3 separate regions of the Homo sapiens genome follow, and all the other regions are linked to region 1. Evidence: promoter capture Hi-C in 16 types of primary human blood cells and fetal thymus (Javierre and others, 2016). All regions are on one chromosome and are shown on one strand. Each heading gives the region's core, a stretch centred on a gene start or on the middle of the fragment in contact. The rest is flanking DNA. Distances are from core to core; before and after follow the strand shown. Region 1 holds the start of TNFAIP6 (TNF alpha induced protein 6). Region 2 overlaps MMADHC-DT (MMADHC divergent transcript). Region 3 overlaps MMADHC-DT (MMADHC divergent transcript).

The links. Contacts are between HindIII fragments. The CHiCAGO score rates a contact against its expected background, and 5 or more counts as called.
Region 2: a contact is called between a fragment that was not itself captured here and the fragment with the promoter of TNFAIP6 in region 1, in 1 of 17 cell types (naive CD8 T cells). The highest score is 5.3, in naive CD8 T cells.
Region 3: a fragment that was not itself captured here is called in contact with the fragment with the promoter of TNFAIP6 in region 1 in 1 of 17 cell types (total B cells); the score reaches 5.6 in total B cells.

Annotation. Positions count from the first base shown.
Region 1 is chr2:151,356,095-151,360,267 of GRCh38, reverse strand. It overlaps TNFAIP6 (TNF alpha induced protein 6), which reads right to left and starts at 2,676. Exons shown (of 6, transcript NM_007115.4): 1 at 2,508-2,676. The coding sequence starts at 2,601. The region is part of intron 2 of LOC101929319 (a long non-coding RNA gene); the gene reads left to right. The HindIII fragment of the contact is 6,797 bases long and covers 1-4,173 here.
Region 2 is chr2:149,626,155-149,630,234 of GRCh38, reverse strand. The region is part of intron 1 of MMADHC-DT (MMADHC divergent transcript); the gene reads right to left. Among named protein-coding and RNA genes, the nearest start is that of MMADHC, 40 kb to the right of the region's middle. The HindIII fragment of the contact is 204 bases long and covers 2,710-2,913 here.
Region 3 is chr2:149,604,441-149,609,093 of GRCh38, reverse strand. All of the region lies in intron 1 of MMADHC-DT (MMADHC divergent transcript), which reads right to left. Among named protein-coding and RNA genes, the nearest start is that of MMADHC, 19 kb to the right of the region's middle. The HindIII fragment of the contact is 5,475 bases long and covers 1-4,653 here.

The DNA of each region.
Region 1 (4,173 bases), core at 1,427-3,926:
TGAGTGCAGTGGTGAGGTCACGGCTCACTGCAACGTCTGCCTCTTGGGCTCAAGTGATCCTTCCACTTCAGCCTCCTGAGTAGCTAGGACTACAGGCATGCACCACCACACCCAGTTAATTGTGTTTTTTTTGGTAGAGACAGAGTTTCTCTATGTTGCCCAGGCTGGTCTTTTTAATTCCTGGGGTCAAGCAATCTGCCCACCTCAGACTCCCACAGTGCTAGGATTACAGGTGTGAACCACTGCATCCCACCTTCCTTTCCCTTCTTTTTCAGATTCAACAATAAAAATAATTGCTTATCTGTGCATTTTTTATTCTCATGATCCATGTAAAATGATTGTAATTTCTTGTCCTTAACTGTGGTTTGTTTTTGTTTTAAGTACTATTTTAAAAATTAGATGATACCAGAGTTAAAATAAGCCTTAGGGATCCTTTACTTCAACCTTATCATTTTACCAGATTGGAACCATAACCTAGAGAATTTAAAGTAAACTTGTCCAACTTGCGGCCTGCCAGGACGGCTTTGAATGTGGCCCAACACAAATTTGTAAACTTTCTTAAAACATTATGAGTTCCCTGGGCCAGGTGCGGTGGCTCACGCCTATAATCCCAGCACTTTGGGAGGCCAAGGTGGGCGGATCACGAGGTCAGGAGATTGAGACCACCCTGGCTAACATGGTGAAACTCTGTCTCTACTAAAAATACAAAAAATTAGCCAGGCGTGGTGGCGGGTGCCTGTAGTCCCAGCTACTTGGGAGGCTGAGGCAGGAGAATGGCGTGAACCTGGGAGGCGGAGCTTGGAGTGAGCCGAGATGGTGCCACTGCACTCCAGCGTGGGCAACAGAGCGAGACTCTGCCTCAAAAAAAAAAAAAAAAAAAATTATGAGTTGCCCAAGACAATTCTTCTTCCAATGTGGCCCAGGGAAGGCAAAAGATGGGACACCCTAGATTTAAAGTGTCCTGTTCTTGATAGTTGCTAACAGATGTATCCCTTCTAATCCAACTATCTTTCCTTCCTAAATGGTTTCTAAAAAGATTATATTGATCCAACCAACTATAAACATCTGTGCTAGGCTGGCTGGTCAAAAATTTGCCCCAGATTGAAGCAATTTGCAATTATCCTGACCCTCAGATTTGTAGCATACATTAATAGACGTTTGAATTTGCTTCTCTCTACCTCTGGGGCAAAACTTCTATTGTCCAGGTTTATATTTTTGTAACATATGACAACACTTTAAAAGACAACTCTAAATTACTTGATTATTAGAGGGTTTGATAATATTTCAAAGTTTATCTGCCTGGATTTAATTCTTACTAGCTTTATGACATTTAAAAAAAATCCTGACAAATATGAGTGTATTTCCTATATTTGACTGTATTCAACTAAAATAAAGAGATGGGCTCATTCCTCTACTAAATTTCAGATCCCGTCTTGGCCAAATGGATCACAGTGAAATTAGTTCACTGGCTCAAGCTGAAAAAAATAGGCGGCAAGGCTGTGCATTACAAATTAGGCTTTTTAATGAAATCCGCATGGTTGCAGTTATTACCAGAGAGAAACATGCTGAAAGGGAAAATATTCTACAACTGTGCTGTTTAGAAAGCATAAAATCAAAATCTAGGTTAATTTCGCCTTCTCTTTATTTCTTTATTCTATGCAAGAATCTATGCATTTTTCCCCAAGAAATTCAATTTTTTTTTACTATTAAACACAATAATGAACATAGAGCAATATCAATTTGTATCATGAGAATTAAAGCATTGTTTAGCATACTGTAATCTAAGGGGTGTTTTGGATTTTCTGCATTTTCCTTTTTTGATCTATTGTTTATCTTCACTGTTTGGCCTGTCTCATTCCTTACATTTAACAAAACAAAATAACAAAAGAAACTTTCCTTGTCTAACAAAAGGGTCAGAAAAGTATTTATATGGATAGTAGAAACAGAAAGAATCAAAGTGGTAAGAATGCATTCAGAAGGAGAAACATTTTTCACTTTTTTCTGTACTGCAAGCTGGCTTGGTCAAAATAGTCAAAATGTTTGAAAAAACTAAGATATAGACTATAGCTCAGAGTCCATGAAGCAATTATTATAAAATTTTCGTAGACTCCAATTTACCTGTTAGGATTCTGAAATCTGATTGCAAATGCATTGACATAAAAACAGAAGACTATATTGGAGTTTCTAGTTGGTTAAAGAAATACTCCTCACTGTACTACTACATCTGCTTTGAAAAGTTTAAAAATATATTTTCATACTGAATATAAATATTAACTGCTATTTTCTACTGAACAATTCACTTTATAAAATGCTATTTTTAAATTTTAGAGGACAAGAACGCTTAAAAAAAAAAAAGCGTATGTATTCCAAAGGCTATCTTTCCTAAGCATTTTCTTTGAGAACATCAGCCTTGTACAGAATAGAAAAAGTTACTGCTTTAAATTTCCTTCTCCATGATTTAAAGAATTGACATTCTCAACAAGAGGCTCATGAGTGAAGGTTCTTACCAAGCCATATGGAGTTATGAAAAATTCCATCCTTGAATCCCCATCCTTGAGTGTCTTCCCATAGCAAGAGAAATAAGTAAATTAAGATGATCATATCGTCAGTTGTAGTGAAGTAACAGCCTGTTAGGGGCTGCTCACAAATTCTCAGAGCAGTGGCTGAAATGTGACTGAAACATCTGGTTTCCACATCTTTTAAATAGTTTTTTTCAACTGTGAGGTCAGCAAGTACTCTCCAATGGCATTTTCCGCTGTAGAGTTACACAATTATCTCAGTGTCTGAAGCAAATCCTCTGACTCATTTGCATTGGCAACCAAAACTAAGGAGATAGAATGATCATCTATGTTTTAAAATTAACTTACTAAGAACGGAGTTCATTTATTGTTAGTCACAAACACTTTTCTGTTAGAAAGTTTGTGTAACTTGATGCAGATTTAGCAGTGATTAAAAGAAAATCGAACTTCAGTAGGAATTTCAAGATAAATCCTAAATGTCTTATTTGCAGTGTCAATTATGGGATATGGGGTTAAACACTAATCTTTTATTGGTAATGTTGGACTGGCTTTTCTAAACATTGTCAAGCCTGTGTAAAAAATTTAAAACAAAAAGTATGCACAGCTTGGAGAATCCTAATTTTTCTCCAGTGATATATGACTTCCTTATTCTCTGCCTGCTTTTCTTCCAGGGTGGGGTCTGTTGCAGTCTTTGGTGTGTTATGGTCAGCAGCTAAATAAATGTATCAGCTCCCAGAAAAGTATTTCAATTTCAGAGCGTCAGGATGTTCCAGCAGCTTTGGGATGTCCTATTATAACACAGTTTTCCCAGGCCACAAATTCTTGAAGTGTTGGGAGAAAGGTGGGTAGACTAACAAAGTTAATAAAAACTTGTCCCTAGCTTCCCTAGACCACTCTAACTTTGAAGAAGACGATCAAGGTAATAGATAATAATTATTACAGTAAAGTCATCATGTCTTCAAATATCCCAAACTTTCCTCTTCCTTTGTGTAGAATCCTTGGGTAACATATCTGATAATACTCCCACTACCGCTGATGCTAATGGCATTTCCTATTGTTCATTGATAGCCATTTATTGGCAACTTTTGATTTTTTTACAAAATTGGTCATTTTTTGCTACTTAGATTCTCTACTTTTGGTCTCAAATTGCTTCCCATTCACTCCTATTATAGCATTCATTTCTCCCATGCTTTCTTAGTCCCTCCAATGATGTTGGAGTTCTTTGAAAAAGCCAACTTGCTAGACATGCTCTGGTTTGAAGTTAGCTTTGAATCCCTTAGACATCTTTGCTTTGAACATCTCAGGTGTGTTCTGGTCTCATCTCTTCTCAAAAGAGCAGTTATGGGGATGTAGGCTGAGAGTACAGAATTTATTGGATGCTCACTGAGGTATACATAAAGTTACTAGCATTGAAAATCTTTATTTTGGACTGGTGGCACATGAAAGATGAGGGAATTGTATCCAAGTTCACAGATAGGGTTAGTGAATTTAAGTTTGTTGCAAAAGAGAAAGGTATAGTTTAGACCAGGTGGGTGTGACTATGGAGAAGACAGGCATGGTTACTGAGAGCAAGATTCATAGGTAGTTGGAAGGAATAAACCATGATATTTCTTTGGAAAGTATAATTATATGCGTATTTTAAGTTTGTGGTTTA
Region 2 (4,080 bases), core at 1,562-4,061, 1.7 Mb after region 1:
ACAAAAAACCTCCACTCATCTCTCTTGAAAGAGGTAGCAACATCTCTGGTTCATTGGATCTGAAAGTTAAGTCAATTGATTTAAGGGAAGAAAAATACAAGATTGGGAATGCTTTAGTCACATACTCTGTTCTATCTCATGTTAACCTCTAGGGAGAATTTGAGGTGGTACCCATCTTTTCACAAACACTGTCACCATCACCTACATAGAATATGTGTACTTCTTGCAAGCAGAGCTCTGACATAGGTCCAAGAGTCTTAAAGATTAAGTACAGCTTTGGCTGGAAAAATGAAGAGTCCAAAAGCAACTCATTCTTAATTATCTTTTATCTTCCCCTTGGAAAGCTGATGGAAAGGCTAAAAAGAACCCATAAAAAGAAAAAAAGAAAGAGTTTTGGTGGCTCTACCTCAGTCTGAGAAAAGGATTCCTTGAGGCTTATGCATAGTAAATCCAGTTCACCAGGATAAAGAAGTATACAGATTAGCTACACAGCAAGATTTGGGCATTTGCCTGAAGGAGACCTGAACACATTACCTTGAAACCAAATGATTCAAATGGTCATATTTGGGACCTAGATATGTGAGATCTTATATATCTATGTTCTCAAGTAACAATTACCATTATCTCTGGAAGCCGAGCATAATTCCTTGCTTATTAATTGCTCAATATCATTTGTTAAAATGAAAGTTTTGGGCCTTAGTTTGCTTAGTGTGCCATAATTTGTAAAACTTGCTTTAAAAAGTTGCAAAGGAATAAATGGAAGTGCTCTTTAAAAGACTGAATGCTGCATAAATGCAAGCTATTCCTACTATTAACTGGAATATGATACTAAAACAGCACACCATACATCTACCAGTCAGTCTGCCTGTCAGTTCACCAAGCTTCTTTAGGAGACTAACAGATGGGCAACATATAAAAGCTTATATTTGGAAGATCTCACTTTTGCCCTTTGGCTCTCTGCCCTCAGGCCTAGAGTGTGGCCCTTAAATCCATCTCCCCAAGAGCCTAAAAGAAATGCTTGTGTGGTCAAACTGGTTCCACCATTGGTCTCATTCCAACCAAAGCTCATTAGTTTTACTTTTCCCTTTGGATTTGTGGGTTACAGTTTTATTTGTTGCATAATAGAAGTCACTAGCAGCTTGTATGTTTCTTTACACCTTGGCATTGAATCAGCAATGGATCCATTGCACTTCCTTTATTAAGATTAAGTGGTGGTTTGCTGTATGTCCTTAGACTTGGTTGCCATTTTAAGCATTTATTAGTTACTCTAATTGTAACCTACTAGCCATTCTATTTCTTTCATTAAGATAAAATAAAAAGGAACTTGTGCTCCAGCTTCAACTTTAAAAACCTAGACCTGCACTGTCCAATATGGTAGCCTCTACATATGGCCATTAAGCATTTGAAATATGACTAATCTGAATTCAGAGATGCTGTAAGCATAAAATACACACCAGATTTCAAAAAGTTATTATTAAAAAAGAATATAAAACATCTCTAATTTTTAAAACTGATTGCATGTTGAGATGATAATATTTTTATTATATTGAGTAAAATTAAATATATTATTAAAATTAATGCCATTTATTTTTAATGTGACTGGAAAATTTTAAATTATGAATGTGGCTTGCATTATATTTCTACTGGACAACTTTGATCTAGATATTCAGAAGTTTTTTGAAGATTTTTATTCTTAATGACTTGGGTTAGTCTTGGTTATTTAATTCTAATGTATTCTTTCTTACTGGGTTATTTAAAATTTGTGTATTATCTTACCTCTAGAATTGACTATAATATAATAGTAAATTAAATAAAACTAATTAATGGCTATTAATCATGTTTAAAAGGCACTGACCTGCCAAGTGCTTTCAAAGCCCTTTAGACACCTGCATTAATGGCTCTGTATCATGCCAAATGATACTGAACCAGAAATGCTCTAATGCTGTTCTTGTCTAGAGGCAACCACCTCAGCTTGGAGCTTCACTGAGCATAAAAGACAGCAAGTGATGCATTATATTCCATGCATTGATAGATGTGTTTGGCAAATGTCATAGCACTTTCTTCAAAACTGCATCATGAAATAGAATATAAGACATTTGGAAAGCAGATTTGATCCTAGTACTTGTGATCTATTCTTAAATTCAGCTTTCATTATATATGTAATATAATGTATGGTGTATGACCAACCACCTACATATGTGAGAGGTATTTTTAAAATGAGCGACCACTATAATTGTGGTATACAAAAAAAAAAAGAGAAAATTCTCATAATGAAACTAAGGGAAAAAATGAGAGATGAAAAAGCCAAGTGTAAAAAAACAATAACAACAAAATTCAGTTCACCAACCAACCCTCAATGGCCATTTATTCCATTCATTGCATTGAATAGTAAGAATTATTAAAAAAAAAATTTAACCATAGAAAAGAACTGTCCTTCTGATCTGGAATATACAGTAAGACCTTTATTAAATATCATTGAGTCCAAAGGACCTACAATCCCAAGATGATCCCATTTGGGCAAAGGAAATAGAAACCTGCAAAAAGACAGAGAGCATGCAAGAAAGGGAGTTGATAAAGACTCAACAAGAGAATAGCTGCATTAGGAAAATTGTTCTGCATAATTTTCCTACCCTTCCCTAAGGAAGTGTACCTTATAGTTGTGACAGGATATTCAGAAAAGGAGAAAATTATTTTTCTCCAAGACAAGCTTCAAATACGAAGAAATTTAATAAGAAGAAACCATTCCATGGATTTAACAATGCAGAGATAGTGTGCTTAGAATAACTTAATCTTAAAGATACCCATCTTAAAAAAAAAACTCACAAAGAAGGAAACAAAGAGGTAAATAAATATTGCTTGACATTCATATACAGATGCACTTAGAATTACTCAGTTTCAGTTCATCTTTAAGCTTCCCATTTTCCAAGACAGACAAACTGAAGCACTGAATTTTAGTTGATGTGGCCCAAATTATAAATAGCCTGTGTAAAGACCAGAACTAGAAGTAAATTTATCTCCAATTGCCTTTTTTACTAATTTCTCAGGCAATTTCTTCTCAACACATCCTGGCTGTAAGACTTGCTATTCCTAGGACCACATGAATACTTTTAAGATACCTAACATGAAAGAAATACACTTAACAGAGCCTTTACTGGATAGATGGTTCCCAAATTGAGTTCTTTTTTTTTTTCTTTTGAGACAAGGTCTCCCTGTGTTGCCCAGGCTGGAATGCAGTGGCGCAATTTTTGTATTTTTTGTAGAGAAGTGGTTTCGCCATGTTGCTCAGGCTGAGTTCAACTTTTAAGACATTGTTTTGTAAAATCATGCTGAACTCCAGCCCCAAAATGTGACTACTATTAAACAGTTAATGATATATCCTTCAAAACTTTTTATAAGATGGATACAGTCATACAATTTTTAAAATCAAAGTGAGATTGGGCTATACATAATATTCTACATTTTTCTTTTTTCAATATATTATAGATATTTTCATCTTCAGGCTTTATTATATTTTTAAATCCACATAATTTGCCACTCTACAAATGTCCCATAGTTTTCTCAACCACCACTGTATCAGTGATGATTTATTTAGGTTATATGCAATTTTTCACTATTACAAATAATACCACAGCAATATTATTTGGTTATATTTTGGAACTCATGTAAGAATTTCCTGAGGATAAATTGCTAAAGGTGAAATTTCTGAGTCAATGATCATTACATTTTTAGGGCTTTTTACAGATACTTTAAAAATTACCTTCCAAATCACTTGAGTCAATTTACATTTCCACCAGAAATAAATGACAAGGCCTGTTTTCCTATATCCTTACCATCACCGAGTGCTATCAATTATTTTAATAATGCCTGACCAGAGAAGAACATATCTCAACTTTTATTCAATTTGGATTATTTTTAAAAAATCAAAGTTGGGGATTTTTCTTTTTAAGTTAGTTCTGTATTCTCCACATCCTTGTTTAATTAGTCTTTCCTGATACTATTTGTGAAAAGGAAAATAATAATAATAAAAGTTTTCTGTCTTGAGACTTACAGGTATATTTTAAATACTCATTTGATTCCAGG
Region 3 (4,653 bases), core at 1,358-3,857, 1.8 Mb after region 1:
CTCAAATCACCCTACAATTGAGCTCAATACTCACAAGCCCCCCAAATAGGACACCAATATTAATCAAGAACCAGCAACCAAGGATTACCAGATAGCTGAAGAAATATGGTACCATGGGAGATGTGACCAAAAAGAGAGTAGAGGAGGGAGATTTTTAAAAGGGAAAAAAATTTTCTGCAGAGAGTCATATTAAAATACCCTCAGAGAATACCCTCAGAGAAAATAAGAGAAAAACAAAAACAGGATACTACCAAATAGGAATATTCTGAAAGGAAAACAGAATTTTTGAAACTTAAAAGTGATTACATAATCAAAATTTCATATATTAAGTCAATTCCATGTGGAAAAAGCATTCTTTTCTATAAATGGTGCTAACTGGATATCCTCATGCAAAAGAATAAAGTTTGATCCCTATCTCACACCATACACAAAAATTAACTCAAAATGGATCAGACACTGAAATGTAAGAGCAAAAACTATAAAACCCTCAGAAGAAAACATAGCAGCAAATCTTTATGACCGTAGATAATGGTTTCTTTTTTAAAAATTGATATATCATACTTGTACACATTTTGAGGGTACATATGGTATTTTGATAGATGTATACAATGTGTAATGATCAAATCAGGGTAATTGGGACATCCATTACCTCAAATATTTATCTTTTCTTTGTGTTTGGAACATTTTAATTCTTCTCTTCTAGCTTTTTCGAAATATACAATAAATTATTAATAGCTATAATTTCCCTACTACTCTATTGATTTTTATAACTCATTCCTTCTGCCCAACTGTATTTTTGTAGCCATTAACAAACTTCCCTTCATCCTCCTCCTCTTCTCATCCCAGATTCTGATAACCATCATTCTACTCTCTATCTCCATGAGCTCCACTTTTGTAGCTCCCACCCCTTGTGTTAGTGTGCCCTGGACATGGGACATGGGACATGGTGTCAAAAGAGATTATTTTGGAGCTTTACAATTTAACGGGTGTGCTCCTGGGTTTCAGAGTTGCTTGAGGCCTGTAGCCCCTCTCTTTTGGCTGATTTCTCCCTTTTGGAGCAGGAATGATAACCCAATGCCTGTACCCCCATTGTATCTTGGAAGCAAATAACTTGTTCTGATTTCTCAGGCTCATAGGTGGAAGCAAATGAGTCTCAGATGAGACTTTGAACCTGGACTTGGGACTTTTGAGTTGATGCTGGAATTAGTTAAGACTCTGGAGAACTATTGGGAAGGTATAATTGTATTTTGCAATTAGAGAAGGACATGAGATTTAGGACCAGAAGGACATGAGATTTAGGACCAGAAGCAGGACGATATAGTTTGAGTATTTGTCCCCACCTGTATTAGCCTGTTTTCATGCTGCTAATAAAGACACACCTGAGACTAGGAAGAAAAAGAGGTTTAATTGAACCTACAGTTCCACATGTCTAGGGAGGCCGCAGAATTATAGCAGGAGGTGAAAAGCACTTCTTATATAGCAGTGGCAAGAGAAAATGAGAAGGAGCAAAAGCTGAAACTCCTGATAAACCAATCAGATCTCATGAGACTTATTAACTATAACAAGAATAGCATGGGAAAGACTGGCCCCCATGATTCAATTACCTCCTCCTGGATCCGTCCCACAGTACTTGGGAATTCTGAGAGATACAATTCAAGTTGAAATTTGGAGGGGGACACAGCCAAACCATACCATTACCCAAGTCTCATGTTGAAATATAATCCCCATGATGGAGGTGGGGCCTGGTGGGTGGTGATTGGATCATGGGAGTGGATCCCCAAAGGCTTGGTGCTATCCTCACAATAGTGAGTGAGTTCCCATGAGATCTGTTCATTTAAAAGTGTGTGACACCTCACCCCACCCCTCTTGCTCCTGCTTTTGCTATGTGACGTGCCTGCTTCCACTTTGCCTTCTACCATGAGTAAAAGCTCCTTGAGGCCTCCCCAGAAGCTAAGCAGGGGCCAGCACCACACTTCCTATACAGCCTGCAGAACCATAAGCCAATTAAACTTCTTTTCTTTATAAATTACCCAGTCTCAGGTATTTCTTTATATCAATGCAAGATTGACCTAATACAGCAATAAAACAAATAACCTGATTTTAATATGGGCAAATGGTCTGAACAGATATTTTTCAAAAGAAGTCATGCAACTGGACAGTAAATACATGAAAAAATGCTTAGTATCACTAATCATTAGAAAAATGCAAATTAAGACTGCAATGAGATATTACCTCATACCTGTTAGAATAGCTTTTATCCAAAAGATGAAAGATAAGTGTTGGCAAGGATGTGCAAAAAGAGAACTCTTATACATTGCTGTTGAGAATGTAAATTAGTAGAGGCATTATTAAAAAAACAGTATGGATGTTCCTCAAAAAAACTAAAACTAGAACTACCATATACTCCAGCAACCTCACTTCCTGGGTATATAGTCAAAGGAATTGAAATCAACATGTTGAAGGGATCTCTGCACTCCCACATTCATTCCAGCATTACTCACAATAGACAAGAGATGAAATCAAGTATCCATTATGAATGAATAGGTAAACAAAATGTGGTATGCATACACAATGAAATACCATTCAGCCTTTTTTTAAAAAGGAAATGCTATCACTTGTGACAACAGAGATGAACCTGGAGGACATTATGCTAAGTGAAATAAGTCAGATACAGAAAGACATGTGGATATGTGGAACCTAAAAAAGTGGAACTCTTAGAAGTAGAGAGTAGAATGATGGTTACCACAGATTGGGAGATTGAGAGAAGGAAGGGAATGTGGAGTTGCTGGTCAAAGGGTACAAAGTTTCAGACAGACAGGAGAAATAAGTGTTGAGATCTATTGCACAGCAGGTGACTACAGTTAATAAAAATGTATTGCATATTTCAAAATGACAGAGTAAATTTCAAATATCTCACTGTAAAAAACAATAGATAAGTAAGGTGATGGCTAGGTCAATTAACTTGGTTTAGTCATTTCACATTGAATACATATATCAAAACATTACATCATAGCCCACAAATGTATATAATTATGATTTTTCAAGTAAAAAAAATTTAAAAATAAAAATATATTTTTGAAGAAAAATAAATAGAAGTAGATAGTAATGATGATTGTACAACAAACATTGAATTATACAACTTAAAATGGTGAATTTCATGGTATGTGAATTATAGCTCAATAAAGTTTCTATTAAAAAAAATAAAATCACCTACAGGGTTAATAAGAAAAGAGAAGGAGGTCTAGGATTAAATTCTTGGCACATTATTAAATTCCCCGTTATCCAGAAGTTCAGCAGAGGAAGAGAAGCCAGCAAAAGACACTGAGCATGACCAACCAGTAAAGCAGAAGAAACAACCAGAAGACTGTGGTGTCATTGAGGCTGAAGAAGAAAGTGTGTCAAAAGAGGTATGCAGTGGTCACCGCTGTCAAATGCTGCAGAACAACCGAGTAAGAGGAGATAATAAATTGACTGCTGGATTTGACAAGTAATGCCAATAGCAGAATAATATACTTAACTTGCCTTTATGATCATTATAAATCTACTTTGTTATTTCAAATTACCAACAATTATCAAAAAGCATAGCAAAAAATAATGTTTATAATATTTGTCACCTTTTTAAAATTTGTAATTTGTGGGAATTTCTTAGCCTAAATAGATATTCGTTTCATACCTAAACAAAACAAAACAAAACCTTAATAGAAGGGCTGGAATAAAAAATTGAGCACATATTCCAAAAATAAGACAAAAAGTCAAAATATGGAAAACAGGAAAGAAAAACATTAGAAGAACAATACAACTCCTATCTGAATAATAGGAGTTCAGAGACAAATACAAATGGAGAGAAGAAAATCATCAAAGAAAGAATCCATGAAAATATTATAGAGTTGAAGGACATGAGTTTCCATATTGAAAGGATCCAGTGAGTACTAAGCATAATGAAGGAAATTAGGCCCACACCAAATGCCATCACTATGAAATTGTAAAACACTTGGTCAGGGGGAGGGTGAGTAGGAACTAGACAATCCAGTAAGAGTCCAGACAGGCCAGGCATGGTGGCTCACACCTGTAATCCCAGCACTTTGGGAGGCCAAGATGGGAAGACTGCTTGAGCCCAGCAGTTTGAGACCAGTTTGGGGCAACAAAGGAAGAACTCATCTCTAAAAAAATTATTAATAATAATTAAAATAATAAAATTTAAGAGTCCAGAAACAAGTTTAAAGGGAAGGAATTTCAAACAAAGTTTCAAGAATCACAATGGCAGAGATTTCTCTAATTCCAATCTGAAATCAGAGAACAATAGAAATATGCTTTCAAAATTTTTATGGAAAATTATTTGCAACCTAGAATTCTATATGCAGTAAAAATTAAAATCATATGTGAAGGTAGAATACGGACATTTTCAGAAGTACATAAATGTCAAAAATTTTACTTCTTATGCAAGTCTTCTCAAGAAGCTAGTGGAGAGTGTGCTTCTCCAACACAAGAGTAAGAAGAAGGAAGATATGAAATTTGGGAAACAAGAATATGATATAGGAAAGAGAAGACTCATGAATAAAGATCCCACAACTGCACAGCAGACCTAGAAAACAATTAATCTAAGTTTGGAGCAGGTCAAAAGTCTCAGGAGAGATTTCTTCAAGACAGTGAAGG